Regions from separate parts of the Homo sapiens genome. Here region 2 is linked to region 1. The links are contacts of gene promoters, found by promoter capture Hi-C in human tissues and cell types (Jung and others, 2019). All regions are on one chromosome and are shown on one strand. The core of a region is centred on a gene start or on the middle of the fragment in contact, and the rest is flanking DNA. Distances in the headings are between cores, read along the strand shown. Region 1 holds the start of GNG5 (G protein subunit gamma 5). Region 2 overlaps LOC124904205 (a long non-coding RNA gene).

Evidence for each region. Contacts are between HindIII fragments. The study calls those that stand out against the background at their distance.
Region 2: a fragment that was not itself captured here is called in contact with the fragment with the promoter of GNG5 in region 1 in 1 of the 25 tissues and cell types used here (hippocampus).

The regions. Positions count from the first base shown.
Region 1 is chr1:84,504,077-84,508,615 of GRCh38, reverse strand. It overlaps GNG5 (G protein subunit gamma 5), which reads left to right and starts at 2,035. Exons shown (of 4, transcript NM_005274.3): 1 at 2,035-2,180; 2 at 2,315-2,605. The coding sequence starts at 2,525. SPATA1 (spermatogenesis associated 1) reads right to left here and starts at 2,230. Exons shown (of 14, transcript NM_001397487.1): 1 at 2,198-2,230. RefSeq lists silencers at 2,310-2,389, 2,640-2,769 and an enhancer at 4,429-4,539. The HindIII fragment of the contact is 15,510 bases long and covers 1-4,539 here.
Region 2 is chr1:84,001,098-84,005,636 of GRCh38, reverse strand. LOC124904205 (a long non-coding RNA gene) reads right to left here. Exons shown (of 2, transcript XR_007066195.1): 2 at 1,584-2,361. Among named protein-coding and RNA genes, the nearest start is that of TTLL7, 4.2 kb to the right of the region's middle. The HindIII fragment of the contact is 3,634 bases long and covers 1-3,590 here.

The DNA.
Region 1 (4,539 bases), core at 786-3,285:
TGAATACGGTGAAGATCTCAGGTAAATTTAAATTGACAGTGCTCTGCTGACAAAACATAAAGTGACAGATTACTTGGTGGTCTTTTCTTGGCATTTATTGCTAAAAGAATCCTCTTGGTGACAACAGGCCAGTCTTCAACCAACTGAACAGTGAGCATCTATGTCTGTACAGTTGGTAACATGTTTGAAATGTCTTAGATCATTGTGGAAGGTCAAAGAACATCTAAACAAAAGTTTAAGAGATACAGATAGTTCATAAACTATATTTACTGGTAATCACTTCAGATGCAACTGAACTTAAAGTTATCTCAATGGTTTTGTTTTTTTTTTTTTGAGACGGAGTCTCACTCTGTCGCCAGGCTGGAGTGCAGTGGTGCCATCTCGGCTCACTGCAACCTCTGCCTCCCAGGTTCAAGCGAATCTCCTGCATCAAGCCTCCTGGGCAGCTGGGACTCCTGGGTGGCGCGCACCACCACGCCCAGCTAATTTTTGTATTTTTTAGTAGAGACGGTTTCCCCACGTTGGCCAGGATGGTCTCGATCTCTTGACCTCGTGATCTGCTCGCCTCAGCCTGCTAAAGTGCTGGGATTACAGGCGTGAGCCACCATACCAGGCCTCAATGTTTTATTTTTCTTTTGTATCCTAAATAGAATCTTTAAACACACGCTACAAAAAAATAACACCTGGTGTTTGAGACAGCACTCCAGTCTGTGGTTTCCCAATGCAGCAGTTAATAAAAAAGCAACAATTTTTTTTTTTTCTGAAACTGTTTCGGCCTAAAACACTGCTTATTCCTCAACAGTCTCCCTCACAGAAGTAATTATTGGACCATATATTCCCTAAAATCTCTTCCAGCATTAACATACCACGGTTCTAAGAGTTCAGTGATATATTTTACAACTACTGTAAAACAGATCATTCTTTGAATAGATACTTGTGTTTAATCTTACAAATCTGTAAAGTATGAATGACGTTTTAGCATTATACAGTCAACAAAGCACCAAAGGTGAAATAATTACAATACCTTTTGGGAAAAGACAATATTTATTGAGATAGCTTTCACATTCTTTTTACATATAATGTCATTTCATTCCGAAAAACAACTCTACGAAGCTGTATAATTTACTTTGAAATAAGGAAATAAAGCCTCAGTAACTTAAGTGGCTTGCCCAAGAATACCGTAAGTAGCAGAGCCAGAATTCAAACCCTGGTTTTAACCCCAATCATTACATCCGTATGAATTAAGTAAAATGCTAAACTTACGATGTACATTTTTGCGAACTGATATAAACTGTTGAGTAAATAAATTAGATTTTGTTGACCAGTGCAATTACACATGCTTCCCTAATAAAAAATTTGAAATCCATTAATGATAAAATTATTAACATTAATGGAAAACATCAGCGCATTCGGAGATTGACTACCCGAAAAGAAATAGGAAACATCTGCCCTTAGTGCTGTGACATAACACACATATTTCCGTGGATGAAAGAAAGACCTACTGGCTGAGCCTATTTTGTTTGGTTAGACCCTACCCTCTCTCCTAAAAACTCCTTTGGTACTCAATTTCAAGCAGGAGGTAATAAATTACAACGGAAATACTAAAGAGCAAACTTTCCGGAAACACAAAAATAAGTTTTATTTTAAAAAGTACAATAAGCATTAATTCTCCAGAGTAAATGGGTAACCGAGCAGACAGGTGTAATCTTCAGCCAGCACCTTGGCTTCTTCACAATCTCCTTCAGAAAAACCGATTCAAGAGCTAAGAAGCCAGTAAAGTCAAACCTCGAGAAGATCCCTTCTCCAGCGAATCAGCGCCCCTGCTCCCCGCCCGCCCGGCTCCGCTGGGTACGCGACAGCGACCTCCGCGCCTGCTCTCCGCCTCGGGTCAGCGGGGCTGGGGGTTGGGGGTGGAACTGAAAATGCCTGTTGGCCAAACTCGGGTCACAGAGAGACACGCCTGTACGGGGCGGGGGTGTGCGGGTGACTCACGCCGGGTGCACAGTAGCTCCTACGCCTCACCCAGTATCTCCCCTCACTTCCCTCAACCCTTCCCACAAACTGGGAGGAAAACTGAGACCTCCTGGTCACCCGCCGCCGGGCCTTTTAGAAACTCCCACAAGCTCTGCCTTCCCTCCCTGGTCCTCTTCAGACCCCCTCTTAGTTCTTCGCGGCTAACGGTAAGCTCTCTCCTTACCTCTCCCTAATCGGCCCCTCTGGAGAGGAAAAGAAAACTTAAGAGTCGGGTCGCGCTAGCCTCCAGCAGCCGCCGCGCCCACCGACTGCTCCGCCCCTTCTCCTCCCCCTCCTCCAGGCTCGCGCTCGGGGCCGGGTGTGGAGCTGGAACAGAGGGCTGGCAAGGCGCGCATGCGCACCGAGGGTGGAGCCGCTGAGCACAGAACCGGAAACTTAGAGACAAAGTTCGGAGCCCCGCCCCCGCCGCGCGCCGCTGAGTTGTCTGGCCCCGCCGACCCACGGCCCACGACCCACCGACCCACGAATCGGCCCGGCCGTCGCGTGCACCATGTCTGGCTCCTCCAGCGTCGCCGCTATGAAGAAAGTGGTTCAACAGCTCCGGCTGGAGGCCGGACTCAACCGCGTAAAAGTGAGCGGGGGCGGGCGGCCGAGGCGGGAGGAAGGCGGCGGCGGCGGGTGGGATCCGGCGGCCCAGCTGGCGGGGGCGGGCGGGACACGCGCCGGCCCTCGCTTCCCCTGGAGAGGACGCGCGCTCAGCGGCGGCGATCGGGGAGCGGCCAGCTTTAGAGCAGGCGCCGCGTGGGTCTACGCTGTGTTTTAGGGGGACGATTAGTTCGCCCTTCCGCCCCAGGACTTTCCGAGGCGGGCTGGCCCCTGGGTTGAACCGTGGCCGACATTCCGGTCCTCCTCCGTCTCTACCTCCCTTGGCAGCCTTCTCGGCTGGTCTCACCAACAGCTGCGCCTCCGCGCGCTGTCCGCACCCTTCCTTTCCCACTTTGCCAGCCTCCTGTTTCTCATCGGACAGGGTATTTTCCGACTTTTGATTCAGAGCAGACTTTTCTCCCATTTGATCTTTCCCAAACCTACTTCCTTTAGTATTAAATTCTTACCTTCAACTTCTCTTGTCCGTTGAACACATACTTTTAAGCGAATTATTGCATAACTTAAACTGTGGATTGAATAAGCATTTTTCGAAACGATCCTGGAGTGTAAAGTTCCGGTCAGTGCCCCGTACAACCTCGAACAAAGCGTGCATTTCATACCTATGGCACAGTTTGCTCATATTTGACCTTGGGGATATCGACTGGTCCGCATGCCGGAGAAAATGATTATTGTGGGTAATTATTGGTCTTATTTTGGCGTCTGGTTAGTATTGGCCTTGTCTTGGGGTACTTTGGGAGAAAAAGCCTTTTGTCTGTGTTGATAGAATAACTTGACATTCAAGTGCTGTTCTAAGTATTTCCTGATTTTTACAGTCCTAAATGGATTGGCTTCTTTCTGGTACAATAGGTCAGGCTACATGTGAAACACTTCTGCAGTTAAAAAAAGAAACAAGAATGTAAATCATGTGCCCTGTTAAAAGCAGCCAGTTCCTAAGATGATTTGATTTTATACTCATCAGGCTAGTCTTTATTACTTGCCGAAATGTTTTGTGAACTGAGAGGGTCTCTAAGCTTTCTTAACTAGAAGTGTCAGAGACCTAGCTTACTCAGTTGTGGTCACCTCAGAAGGGAAGGGAAATTCTCATTCGTCTTGGTGCAGGATCCTCCTGAGAGAGAGTCTCCCATTTAGTTTTGTTAACTAGAAATGTCAGGGACCTAGCTTACTCAGTTGTGGTCAACTCAGAAGGGAAGGGAATTCTCATTCGTCTTGGTGTGGGATCCCCCTCACGTCCAGTCCTTGAAATGCTGTAGACCTCACTGCAGTTTGGAATCCATTTCTCTACTCTCCCAATTCTTACCTCATCACAGTGGTTTCTAGTCAGTCTTGGCTGGATTTGGCTCTGAAACTCGAAATCATTTATTTCGTAACCATTAAATGTCATTCAGGTGTGCCTTTATCATAGATAGGATGGACCAAGAAAAAAAAATGGGGGTGGGATAGTGAAAGCAATAAATTGTACATCTTTAGTCTCCAAAGAAAATGACATGAGGTTCTCAGGCTAAAATACTCCAAGAGCTTTACTTTGAAAACCCTAGCTGCTGCTCCCCTAATTCCCCAAAACTGATCCTACCTAAATCTTCAGTAGACTTCTGGTTCTGGTCGGGATCATTAAAGGCACCAGACATGATTTGGTTTTGGAGTTATTGCCTGATGTTAAGGCTGTAGCAAGAAGGGGAGCATCCCCTTTTGTACTTTTTAATGAGCTTTTCTTTAGACATGTTGCTAAATGTGGTTTAACGTTGTGTATCTGTTTTATCAATGACTGGGCTAGGTGATTTTTTTGTGAGATTTTTAAACTAGCACAATCTTACTTTTAACCTTTATGTGTGAGTACAATTGATAGAACTTACCATAAGTGCTTGACAAACTGTCATAGGTAGGTCAGGACATTTTTGAGAG
Region 2 (4,539 bases), core at 524-3,023, 500 kb after region 1:
TCATATATGACGCTTTCTCCCTGGTGTCCTCACATGATGGGCAGGGCAGGGTAGCTGGCTGGGGCCTCTTTTATAAGGCATTAATTTCATTCATGAGGGCTCTGCCCTCATGACCTAATTGTCTTCCAATGGCCCCACCTTCTAATAAAATCACATTGATAATTAGGTTTCAACATATGAATTTTGTGGGAACATAAACTTTCAGACTATGGCACTTTCTTTTTGAGATAGGGTCTCACTCTTTCACCTGGATTGAATGCAGTGGTGCAATCATCGTTCACTGTAATCTCGAACTTCTGGGCTCAAGTGATCCTTCCACCTCAGCCTCCCTAGCAGCTGGGACTACAGGTGTGCCAATTTTTTTGTCGAAACAGGGTCTCACTTTGTTGCTTAGGTTAGTTTTGAACTCCTGGCCTCAAGGGATGCTCCTGCCTTGTCCTCTCAAAGTGTTGGGATTACAGGCATGAGCACATATTAATATAGTACATTTTATTCTTTGAATACACACATACACACGCACACACATATATATACACACCCCCACCCACACACACACACACACACACACATATATACACATATATTTCATAGTTCCCTAAAACTTTTACAAAACAAATCATGTGCTTAGCTGAAAGGAAAACCAAATTCAAAGAAGTAGAAAGCTTACAGGTTACATCCTCTCACCACAGTTCAGTAAAATAAATTGGAAATAAAGAAGCACATAATAAGACAAACCTTGTATGACAGAGGAAATTAAATAATATAGAAATGTCCAGAAACATTGACAAATCAAACACTCTAAAAATAATGGGACACAGCAAAAACTGAACTCAGAGGAAAATGTGTTGCCTTTAATTATGGAAGCAGAAAGGTGAGTACAAAGGCATTAAGTAAGTAATGAGTCCATGTAAGAACAACAACAATAGCAAAAAGAAAACAAAAGAAACTCTGAAGAGGTATCAACAGTGAAATTATTAAAATAGATAAAATGGTAGAAAAGAATGATAAATTCAAAGATTGCTTCTTTAAAAAGACAAATAAAATAAACATCATGTGAACCTGCTAAGGAAAAGATAATAAGATCATAATTAGACATGATCAATTGTGTGAAAGTAGGAAAGAGATTAAAAGAATTCTAAGTAAATACTAAAGATGATCCTAGCAACACATTAGGAAAATAAAACCTAGAAGAAGTGAATACTTTCCTAGGAAAATATACATGATCACAACTGACACAGAAGAAGTGAAAAACTTGAATAGACCAATTATTACAGAAGAGATTGGAGAAGTGATTAATGATCTGCTATTGAAGAAGGCCACAGGCAGATGAATTCACAGCTGAATTTTTAATCTAACTATTAAAGAACGGATAATTCCAATATTATTTAAACTATTGTAAGTCTTAGAAAAAAATGGAAAGTTCCCCAGTTAATTTCATGAAGCCAGACTAACTTGAGTACCAAAGCCTAAGAAGGAGTAAAACAACAATTAAAAGTACAGGCTGATTTCATTTCTGAATATAGCTGCCAAATGTTTAAATAACAGAGAATACAATAGAGGAATGAATCACGTGAATAACATGGTGTGAAAAAATAGGCTTTATTAGAGGAATGAAAAGGCGGTTCAATATCAGGAAGTCTAGCTACATATTGATTACATTAAAAATTAAAGGGAAAAAGCCCAACCATTATCAATAAGTTGTGGAAAGGCATCAGATAAAAGTCAAGTGACTTTAAGCAAAATAGAATCAGAAAAAATTTCTTTTATAATAAAGGAAAGCCCAATAGCGAACATCATCCCAAATCACAAAAATTAAATCTTTCACTTAAAATCTGGAATCAGGCATCACCACAATCACTTACATTAGTGATTCTAACAAATATAAATAAAATAACTGGTATAAATTATAACAAATATACATTTTTATATATTTTATAAACAGTCTCACTCTGTTGCTCGGAGTGGAGCCAGTGGCGTGATCAAGGCTCACTGCAGCCTTGAACTCCTGGACTAAGGGATCTTCCCACATTGGCCTCCTGAGTAGCTGGGACTGTAGGCTGGTGCCACCACGCACAGCTAATTTCTTATTTTTTATAGAGACAGATCTCCTTATGTTGCCCAGGCTGGTCTCAAATTCCTGGGGTCAAGTGTTCCTTTCACGCTGGCCTTCCGAAGTGTTGGGATTACTGGCATAAGCCATTGTGCCCAGCCAGAAACAAAGTTCTTGATATTGCTGATATGCCTGTTTTCTTGGAAAATCCAAGGGACTCATGAAAAAACAAGTAATAAGATAATTTGGTGCACTGAATGAATACAAAATAAATTACAGAAAGCATCATCTCTCTGTTCTGGTAGAAGACCCTACAAAAGGAAATGGAAAGAACATTTCATTCAGAATACAAGTGCTATAAAAAATTTGGTACAACTTTGGTAAGAAAGTTACAGAACATATATAAGCAAAATTATAAAAATATGATTGGGAAATGAAAAAACATAAACTAGAAAAGCTTATTATCTTCTTGGATGAAATGACTTACTGTCATGTAAATTCTCCAAAAATTAAAACAAAAGTCTAATGCAATATGACTTTTTGTCTTATATAAAATGCCGTATAATAATTAAAAAGGGCTTAAAGTCCAATATCTATATATAAAAGTAATTTTGAATGAGTATCATTTTAAATTTGGGGCTTTTTGAAGATTTGTTGAGAATGACAAAAACAACACTGAGAAAAATTCTAAACCCTTTAATAAATACATTTTATATGATAAATGTAAAATTACATAATGTAGGTTTTAAATAACAGCCTCTTATTTCCTTCTTAATAAAAGGTGGGATTAAGGGGTTAAGTCTAGAAGCCTGAATGTTATTTTTTGTAGGCCCCATATTGTTTTTGTCCAGTATGGTCTGGTCAAACTTGGCTGTACATTAGAACCACCTACAGAACTTCATAGGAATCTAGTTTCCAGAGTCTCATGCAGGAGTTCCTGCAATCATAATTTTGCAGCAAGAATTTTAGGCATCACTGGTCAAGTTTATGTTACAAGGTTCACTTCTTATTCTTAAATTCAGGGTCTCTTTTCTGAGCACAGAAACCTAGAAAAGGGTATCCAATGTTTAAATCTTCTGTGGGAAATGACTCATTTCCTCTTAGAAATGAGAGTTGAAAACAGGTTTTTAATAATAAATAAAAAATAGATTCTGCTGCAGAGAAACATGCAATGTACATGTTCTCTATAGCAGGAGACAGTAAAAGTATGCTGATATTCACGTCATGTATTGGTTAGTGTTTGAAATCCAGCTTTGTCTCTTTCCAATTGTGCTACCTTTGACAAATTAATACACCCTTGTAATTCTCAGTTTCTTCATTTATAAAATGGGAGTGATAATAGTACTTACTTCACATAATACTAGTTACTCAAACACTAATGATTTAATAAGTGTTAGCTAAACGCAAAGAGAAACAACACAATTAAGCACTCTCTTCAGCAAGAATAAGTTGAGAGGTTAATGTCACCACATGCTTTGGTAAGAGACCAACACATAGCAGGTACTGGAATATCTTGCATCAAGATTTAACATTTTGTGGCTCACAATGCAGTTTTATCAAAGGCATTAAGTATTCTCTTTCTCTCTAGCTCTCTTCTTATTAGTATCATTTAAAAAGTAATATTGGAATGTTCCCAGATCATGCTAGTTTGTGAATACAAATGAGTTCATGTTAATATCGGTGCCTAAATAAGGTTTAACAATCATCTTGAGTTTAATAATGATTCCCTTGACCCTGCAGTGCCTCCCTAGTCTCCATCATTTGCAGCAAGAAATCCTCAGCAGTGTCTTTCAGGTGCTCAGGAATAATACCACTCCTGCTTTACTGCTCTGGGCTCCTACTTAAGTTACCTTGACCTTGTATCGGCCACCAGTGTTCTTTATGAGAATATACCCTCACTGGGCAGATCAGTTCCTATCGCTGGCAAGGCTGTATGGAGGTCTATTTCAGGTTGGGTGAGAGAATGGCTCTCTTGCCAGCTCCATGCTGTCATTTGTCACCAGGCCTAAAGTAGTACTTCTTAGAACTTAAATTTCACAAAGTCATTTGTGGGGAAGATGATTATTTAGCTTCTGGCCCTAAGTTCTTTACACAGCAGGCTCAAAACCATTTGAGGACTCTGAGGAAAGCAGGGAATGCAGGCATCACACCATTCCTTCCACTTCTTTTGACAATTTCCCAAGGCTGCCAGCACAAAAATTCCCCTTTCTTCATTCAGAAACATATGTTCCAAGAGTGTCAACTTATACAAACAGATTGCTGCAGATGTCACTGGCCCATCCGCACCACAAATCATAAGGCTCTAAATTCCTTTCTATATCCCTATCATCTAACATCTGACATAAAGCACTAACTCAGAAGACGCCTCATCTACATGTGTTCTGTTCCTGTTGTTGCCTTTGAAAGTGAAACAACTGCACATGGAGAGAAGAATCACACATTTCTGAGCCTGAGGCCAGTCTGGCCACTGGGGACCCAATGCTCCTGCT